Regions from separate parts of the Homo sapiens genome. Here regions 1 and 2 are each linked to region 3. Evidence: promoter capture Hi-C in human tissues and cell types (Jung and others, 2019). All regions are on one chromosome and are shown on one strand. The core of a region is centred on a gene start or on the middle of the fragment in contact, and the rest is flanking DNA. Distances in the headings are between cores, read along the strand shown. Region 1 overlaps GLCE (glucuronic acid epimerase). Region 2 overlaps GLCE (glucuronic acid epimerase). Region 3 holds the start of PAQR5 (progestin and adipoQ receptor family member 5).

Region 1 (2,700 bases), core at 57-2,556, 100 kb before region 3:
TAACAAAATTTGAAATTTTTACTTACCTTCTCTTTCACCTCTAGACTTTGAAAGTCTGTATCAGATTTTGTGACATATTGTATGTGGATTGTCTACTTTAGATTATCCATGGAAAACTATTTTTTAAAATCAGTCGTGTTGCTCCTTGTTGTCTAAGACAATTCTGGATGTTTTCTCCTGATTGGTATGTTTTCAGGGGAATGCAAACTAATTTAATATAGCCCTGGTGTGTATAATGAGGGTGTTAAATCTGTCAGAACACAAATCACAATGATTGAAATATGAATGTAATATTTTGGTACCTTTGAAACTATTAAATTACTCCCCTATATTACATTAAATCAGTGAGAGAATTCCCTTGGTTGGTTCATTCATTCATTAAACAAATATTAATACCATTCCTACTATTGCCAGGTACTGTTGTATCACATACAACAGTAAACAAAACAGACAAAAATTTCTGCCTCTATGGAGCTTACATTCTAGCTGAGAGGGAAACTGAAACTAACAGATAAAATATATACTGTATCAGATAGCAAAATAAAGGAGGGAAAGGGGATGGGGGAGTGTTGGAAGGCATGGCAGTTGGAGGAGGGCAGGCCTGGGAAGGATTGTGACATTTGAGTGAAGACCTACAAGGAATCTGTACAGATATCTCAGGGAAGAACATTCCTGTTCTAAGGTATAGCAAGGGTAACAGATTTGAGGAAAGTGTGTGCCTAGTATGTTCAAGGAACAAGGAGGAGGCTAGTGTGACTGAAGTGGAGTGAGCATGGAGTGTTAGGCTGGTGCAGACATAATTGCGGTTTTTGCATTGTTTAAATTTGCTGTTTGGTATTGGAATACATTATTAAATAAATGTGGTTATGTTATACATAATTTTAATGTGCATTTCTTGCTTTGTTTTGCTAATGACTTATTACTTGCTGTTTATTTTATATTTATTTAGACTATGGAAATGATGTTAGACAAAAAGCAAATTCAAGTGATTTTCTTATTCAAGTTCAAAATGGGTCATAAAGCAGCAGAGACAACTCGCAGCATCAACAATGCATTTGGCCCAGAAATTGCTAACAAAGGTACAGTGCAGTGGTGGTTCAAGAACTTTTGCAAAGGAGACGAGAGCCGTGAAGATGAGGAGTGTTGTGCCCGGCCATCAAAAGTTGGCAACGACCAATTGAGAGCAATCATCGAAGCTGATCCTCTTACAACACTAGAAGTTGCCGAGAACTCAACATCAACCATCCTACGGTCATTCAGCATTTGAAGCAAATTAGAAGGTTGTAAAAGCTCGATAAGTGGGTGCCTCATGAGCTGACTGAAAATAAAAACAATCGTCATTTTGAAGTGTTGTCTTCTCTTACTTTGTGTAACAACAATGAACCATTTCTTGATCAGATTGTGACGTGCGTTGGTAAGTGGATTTTATATGACAACCGCTGATGACCAGCTTGGTGGTTGGACTGAGAAGAAGCTCCAGAGCACTTCCCAAAGCCAAACTTCTACCAAAATGTTAATGGTCACTGTTTGATGGTCTGCTGCCGGTCTGATCCACTACAGCTTTCTGAGTTCCAGCAAAACCATTACATCTGAGAAGTATGCTCAACAAATCTCTGAGATGCATGGAAAGCTGCAACGCCTGCAGCCAGCATTGATCAACATAAAGGGCCCAGTCCTTCGGCACAACAATGCCTGACAATGCGTCGCACAACCAACGCTTCAAAAGTTGAATGAATTGGGCACAAAGTTTTGCCTCATCCACCGTATTCACCTGACTTCTTGCCAACTGACTACCACTTCTTCAAGCATCTCAGCAACTTTTTGCAGGGAAGATGTTTCCACAACCAGAATGCAGAAAAAGCTTTCCAAGAGTTTATCGAATCCCAGATCACACATTTTTACACTACAGGAATAAATAAACTTATTTCTCATTGGCAAAAATGTGTTGATTGTAATGTTTCCTATTTTGATGAATAAAGATGTGTTTGAGCCTAGTTATAATATAATGATTTAAAATTCACGGTACAAAACCGCAATTACTTTTGCACCAACCTAATAAGATTAAAACCAGTAGAGGTGGGTATTTTGAGAACCATGTATTTCAAGGACGGAATTATTGTTTGTGTCAGCTACTGCTCATAGGTAAAATAAGAGGAAGTCGGAGAATCGATTGTTGTGTTTAGCAATGTGGAAGATGTTGGTGACCTTAAATAAGTGCAAGTTGGTAGACAGATGGGATGAAAAGCTTGGTTGATATGGATTCAGGAGAAAATGGGAGATGTGGAGACAGTGAGTGTAGATAACACTTTTGAGTTTTATTGTAAAGGGGGAACTATGCACATTTGGTGTGTAGAGTTAAGAGAGTGGGCTTTAAAAAATTTTTTGGTTCTATGTTTAATGTGACAGGAATAATCCAGTAGAGAGGGAATATTTGACAATGCAGTAGAAGGAAGAGAAAATTGCTGCAGCAGTTTTCTTGAATAGGTGGGAAATAATTGGGATTACCTTTAGTTTTCCAAAGTGACCATTGTATTTCTTTGATGCTTATAATTCACATTCTTCCCTTTTAAAGAACATCAGTGCCTGAGCCTTTTTATATACATATCCTTTCTTATGTCTGTACCTTACCCCTCACATGTATACTTTTTTCTTTTTTTTAAAAAACCCTGCATGTGGCATTCAAACACATGTATGCTTTTA
Region 2 (3,024 bases), core at 448-2,947, 74 kb before region 3:
CACTTTTGCCGGATATAGGATTCTTGTTTGACAGATTTTTTTGTTTGTTTGTTTGTTTGTTTTCCTTCTAGCACATTGAATATGTCAACCCACTGCCTCTGGCCTCCAAAGTTTCTGATGCGAAACATGATGATAACCTTCTTGAGAGTCCCTTGTATATGATAAGTCTCTTTCTTACTGATTTTAAGATCCTCACTTTGTCTTTGGCTTTCGATAGTTTCATTATACTATATCCCAATATGGGTCTCTGAGTTCATGCTACTTGGAGTTTGTTGAGCTCCTGGGATGTTTATACTCGTGTCTTTCATCAAACTTTGGAAGTTTTTCATCATTATTCATGTGATCTCTTTGCCTCTTTCTCTTTTCTCCTCCTTTCAAAACTCCCACAATGTATATACTCATCCAATTGATGGTGTCCCACAGATCTCTTAGATTCTCTTCATTTTTCTTCAGTCTTTTTTTTTTCTGTTCCTCAGAGTCATAGTTGCAATTGTCCTATCTTAAAGTTAGCTGATTCTTCAGCCTGCTCAGATATGCCTTTGAATCTATATAGTGAATTTTTCATTTTGTACTTCTCAGCTCCAGAATTTCTCTTTGGTTCTTTTTTAGGTTCTGTAGCTCTACTGATACTTACACGTTTTTCATACATCATTTTCTTGATTCTGTCTGCACCTTCCTTTAGTTCTTTGCACATCTTTAAGACAGCATTTAAAGAGCTATGGTAGATTTGCCATCAGGTCTTTTTCAAGGACGATTTCTATGATTTATTTTTTGCCTTTGAATGTGCCATACTTTCCTGTTTCTTTGTATGCCTTGTGATTTTTTGTTGTTGTTGAAAACTAGACATTTAAATCTATTAATGTGCTAAGTCTGGAAATCAGATTTTCTCCTTTCACTAGGGCTGGTTGTTTTAGTATTATTTTTGTTTATTGTTTTTGGTTTTTGTAGACTGGGTAAGGAAACAGGGATCAGCCTATGTCAGAGATAGAAATATAAACTTAAGGTCTTCCCAGGTATTTTCTTTGCATCTTTTCCTGGACATGCATGATCATTTTCCAGTTTTGTCCATATTTACAGTTGTTTTTGAATGTCCCAGTCTTTAATGTCTGGCTCCCAAAAGGAGAAAAAGAGAAAAATAAATACAGGAAGAAAAATTGGCTCTGGCCCTTTAAGTTCCCTGGAAGTCATTTCAGGGGAGCAGGGGGGCTCTTGCAACACCGGGAGGAGGTGCAACAACAATGGCTGGCAGCCTCTTTGACTACACCCATGTGATCTTTGGCAACAATCAGTGATCAGAGTACAGATCTCCATACCTGGAGGACAAGGTCCTTTTTGCCTACGTGGGCTCCTGCAAGCTGAGTACAAACTGCTCCAGGAGCACATGCACAGCTGCCTGCCAGGGAGCTAGGAGTGGAGGATGGCTTGCTGCAACAGTGTTAAGAGCTGAAAATGACCCAAATTAATGCACTTTATCATTTAGTCCTTCTCTTGGAAGTTGCAAGCCTTCAGTGGACTACAGAGTTCCAAGATAATTACTTTAGACAGATTCTGCCAGTGCAGTTGTTGTCTAAGTTGGGAGACAGATTCCTGGTGGTTCCTACTTTGTCATCTTTCTTGAATCCCTCTGTGATTTCTTATGGCAGAAATTATGTTAATAGTAAACTCAACATAAGTGATATAGTTTTTTGGTTCCTAATAAATCAGATTTTTGTTTTTTGTGTTTAGAATGGCAGCCCAAGATAACTATGCTGGTGGTTCTATGGCTTATGGTGCTACATATACCCATAGTGATATAATATGTCTAAAAAGGTATGATTATTGGTATTAGGAATAAAAGCTTCATTAGCCAAATATTTTAAAGCTTTTTTTTTTTCTTTTTTGCAGGGCAGAGGTGGAGAGGGGTTAGATTATTTCATCTGCCCTACAGTTGGCATAATAAAGAGTAAGCCCTTAGTTTTGGGAATGTATGCAGTAAGCTAGGCATCCTTGCGTCGGCTGTCATAGAAGTCCCTGTCCTCTTAGTCTTCAGTAAACATTAGGATATACCAGGACTTATATTCTGTACCACAGAGTTCAGCATTCAATTAAATATGGTCTTATATCATAGTCTAAATAATTTGTTAATAATTATAAGGTTTTGAGGGGCAGTTGTTATGCCTCTTGTTTGTACACACAGTGCCTAGTAGGTATTCAGTAAACACTTGTTGATTAGGTTATCATGTATAAGCAATAATTTTTTTGTGGAATAATGAAGGTCTTGAAACTTGAGTAGACATTAGACTGAAAGTATGCACAACTTCCTGTAAATTATGTGTAAATTTGTAGATTTGAACTTTGACTTGCATACTAAGGATTCTTTTACTGATTTCAGAGTGGTAGTGCTGATATTTCCTAACATTTACTGAGTACTCTCTCTGTGCCTGGCATCGATCTAAACAATTTATGTACATTAACTCATTTAATACTACATTATGAAGTATTCTTTAAATCCATATGGTATATGAGGAAACTAAGATATAAACAAGTTAAACTTTTTCTTAAATACACAGAGTTAATAAGTGATAGAGCCAGGATTCAAACCCAGAAAAAAACAGCTAAAAGCCTACATCCTTAACTTCTATGTTATACTGCCTCCCAGTGTTACATATATGACGTTTCCAATTTTTATTGGACTTAAGGGCCTAAATTCATCAAACCTCCCTCCTCTAAACACATACACGTGTGCACGCATGCACAGACACACACACACACACACACACACACAGACACACACACACCTATTTTAATCTTTTGTTATTAGATACAGTTATTAGACCATCTTGGGATCATGGCGTTTTCTGTAACTTAAACTACCTACCTTTAGGTGAATTGAGTTAGAATTGAGTATTTGACACAAATATTACTTCTATTCCAGATTATGAACATTTCAAAACTCTATTTCATAAGTAATAAACATGATTTTGGCAATATTCCAAACACTGCTGTTGTTGGAAGTGTTAGGTTAGATAGAATTCTGAGTACTTT
Region 3 (2,824 bases), core at 325-2,824:
ATACCTACAGCAGGCAGGAATCCAGGTGGGGCACCAGGCATCTCTGCTCACCTTGGCTGCTGGTGGTGGGGTGCCTGCCTGTGCTGTGCATGCTGCAGCTTTGGCAGGGTGGCCAATCAGTCCAGTGCCAGCCTTTGCCTCCCAGAGAATGCTTCACACCCTATTCTTCCCCCAAACCCATCACTGGCCCAGACATCAAAAGCACACATCCCTGTGCTATTCCCCTTCAAAGAGCTTCATATCTAATATCTCACTGAGTCCCCCGACTAGCCTTGGAAAGGCAAAGCAGGGATTATTAATCTCCATTTTGTAGATGGTGAGGGTCTTGTCCAAGGCTACTCTGAATTCAGCATAGAGCTGGGACTGGGCTCCACTCTTGTGTCCAGTCATTCTTGTCAAACTCTGGTCTGTGGAATATACATGCCTGCCTCTGTGTAGGCCCCAGTCTCTTTCCCTTTAAGAACTTGGGTCTGAGAGGACAAGCGCATGTCGCACGCACACACACACGCACATGCATACACACCCTTACAAGATGCACAGCCACCAAAAAGCCTAATAAAGCAAGGTGCCCAAGACCACGGTTCAGGATCCGTAAAAATGGCCGGAGATAATTGACTGCAACCTATTCACTGCAAATGGGGCAACTTGGGCCCACAAAGGGCCAGAGACTTGACCCGAGTCACAGAGTAGACTAGAGCCCAGGTCTCTGGACTCCCAGTCCTGTGCTCTCTCCACTGTGTGTGCCCTCAGCAAACAAGGCAAGGCAGGGAGGAGCAGGAGCTCAGAGAGCCTGGGGCTGAAGGGTGGGAGGAAAGAGCCTGGTGGGGGACTTCGGTCCACAGGTGTGGATGTTCCAACCTTTCTCTGGCAGGGTCGGGGTGGGGGCACCAGGTAGCTGCAACCTGTTCCTTCAGCACCTGGGAGGAGACACAGAGTCTGGTTCCCTGAAGCCAAATGTTTCTTCTTTGTCCTCTGTGTCCCTTCATCTCTTATAGCTGTGTCCACTGAGTGGCAGAGGTCCAGGCCCAGCGCCTTCCAGTCTAGGAGCCTGTGACCTGGGACAGGATCCCTGGGGAAAGGGTGAGGGCTGGCAAAGGGCCCGCCACCCTGAGCACTCCAAGAGACAGGGGTGGAACTCACTTCAAGGATTCAGGGCGGCGAGGATCCTCTCCCACCGGCGAAGCGGACACCGCGGTGGGGCTGCGAGTACCCAGTTGTTGTTTTTTTCTCCTTCCCTGTTCTCCACCCCATGCACTTTTCCGAGGGGCAAGCTCCGCAGTTCTCCCATCAAGGAGGCTCTCCAGGCTCCCTGCCGGCCTTCGGCTCCTGGGGTGGAGGTGGGCGTGGGGTACATGGGCCCTAGGAGAATGGGGTGTGAGAGACTCCCCTGGGCTTATGGCTTTGGTGGCACCTCAGGCTGTGGAATGGGGTGGCGAGTCTTTGGAAGTCACAGAGCCCAGGGTCGGTGGCACGTGATGAGGCGCAGGCCTGGCTCAGGGGGTGGTGCCCACGGCCCTCGGCTCCTCCCCCGGGGCCGCCCCGCCCCGCGCGGGAGGGGACGGGCGGGGACCGGCATGGGTAGGCGCGGCGACCCGCAGGGCCAGGTGCAGGGCCCGCGAGTCCGGGGTCGCCGCAGCCCGGGAGGAGTGTCTGGTCTCCGGCCTGCCTGTGCTGTCCCCGCGCCCTGTCCACTGGACTCCCGAGACCCTTGGAACCCAGGTAACCCGGGGCGGGACTCCCCGCCGCGCGCCGCCTCCCCACCTCCCGGTCCACGCGCACCCGCCCTCCGCGGCAGCCCCAGCCGCCCTGCGCCCGTGGAGCCCGTTGAGCCTGGGTGGCCGCTCCGAGGGCGGGTCTGGGAAAGTTTGTGCCGGGGCGGCCCTGATCCGGCGGCGGCGCGGCTCGGCCACTTTCACCGCACGCGGGGCCGGTGTGAAGGTGGGGCGGCCGCCGCCGTGCAGAAGGCTCTCTGCTGCAATCGAGGGCGGTGAGGGGAGCTGTTGCCTTCTCGCACCTTTTCTCTCACTCTCCAGGGCGTTTGCGCCGCTTATCCTTCCTCCACCGCCCCCCTCCCGCCGCCCCCACTTTAATAAAACCCTTGGATTGGGGCTGCACAGTTGGCGATTTCTTTACACCTGTGCTTCCCGCCTCCTGAGCCCAGATGTGAGCCTGGGCTGAGCAGGACCGTGTGGGTGAGGGGCGGCCCACTGCCTGCGGGGGTCGTCCCGGCCCTGTTGAAGTGGGTGCCCAGCTACAGGGAGTTCCCCCTGCTCTGTCATTGGCCTCCCCCCGGCCACAGCCCCCAGCTGGGCATCTCCTGGCTCCCCTAGCACTTCCCAAGTCCTAGTCGGATGAGCCCAGGAGAGGGGGTGGACCCCGGCCCAGCAGAACAAGAACTCAGGAGCCCGGTAACTCTTATCCGTGAGCAGAACCGGCTTCCTCCCGCTTAGGTTGGGAGGAGGGCTCAGCTTAGTGGGAGTCGGGGGTGACAACTGCCCCTTCCCACGCAGAGCCATAGAGAAGAGATGGGGAGAGGTCAGGGGATCTGAGAAGAGCTAGCAGCCAAAAAGGGACACATCCCTGATTTCATTTGAACCTAACAAACCAATGGCGAGTAGATATTAACACATGGGCAGATGAGAAGACAAGGAGGCCCAACAAAGCTCAGCCATTTGCTGGAGAAACTGGTGGGCTTTTCTCCACCACTGAGTGGCGGGTTTCCCACCGCATCCTTCCAGAGCTGCATGGTCGCTTCTGCATTCTTGCAGTGCCCTTGACTCAGCAGAGGTTTGTTTCTTTTACCCCACTCCCCACCCCCCTAGGT

The links. The method cuts DNA at HindIII sites, captures the fragments that hold promoters and counts their contacts. A contact is called where the count stands out against the background at its distance.
Region 1: a fragment that was not itself captured here is called in contact with the fragment with the promoter of PAQR5 in region 3 in 2 of the 25 tissues and cell types used here (adrenal gland and aorta).
Region 2: a fragment that was not itself captured here is called in contact with the fragment with the promoter of PAQR5 in region 3 in 3 of the 25 tissues and cell types used here (IMR-90 fibroblasts, dorsolateral prefrontal cortex and small bowel).

The regions. Positions count from the first base shown.
Region 1 is chr15:69,195,466-69,198,165 of GRCh38, forward strand. All of the region lies in intron 1 of GLCE (glucuronic acid epimerase), which reads left to right. Among named protein-coding and RNA genes, the nearest start is that of GLCE, 36 kb to the left of the region's middle. The HindIII fragment of the contact is 3,496 bases long and covers 1-2,700 here.
Region 2 is chr15:69,223,311-69,226,334 of GRCh38, forward strand. All of the region lies in intron 2 of GLCE (glucuronic acid epimerase), which reads left to right. Among named protein-coding and RNA genes, the nearest start is that of GLCE, 64 kb to the left of the region's middle. The HindIII fragment of the contact is 3,998 bases long and covers 1-3,024 here.
Region 3 is chr15:69,297,338-69,300,161 of GRCh38, forward strand. PAQR5 (progestin and adipoQ receptor family member 5) reads left to right here and starts at 1,575. Exons shown (of 9, transcript NM_017705.4): 1 at 1,575-1,719. PAQR5-DT (PAQR5 divergent transcript) reads right to left here and starts at 1,426. Exons shown (of 3, transcript NR_184010.1): 1 at 1,141-1,426. The HindIII fragment of the contact is 6,076 bases long and covers 1-2,824 here.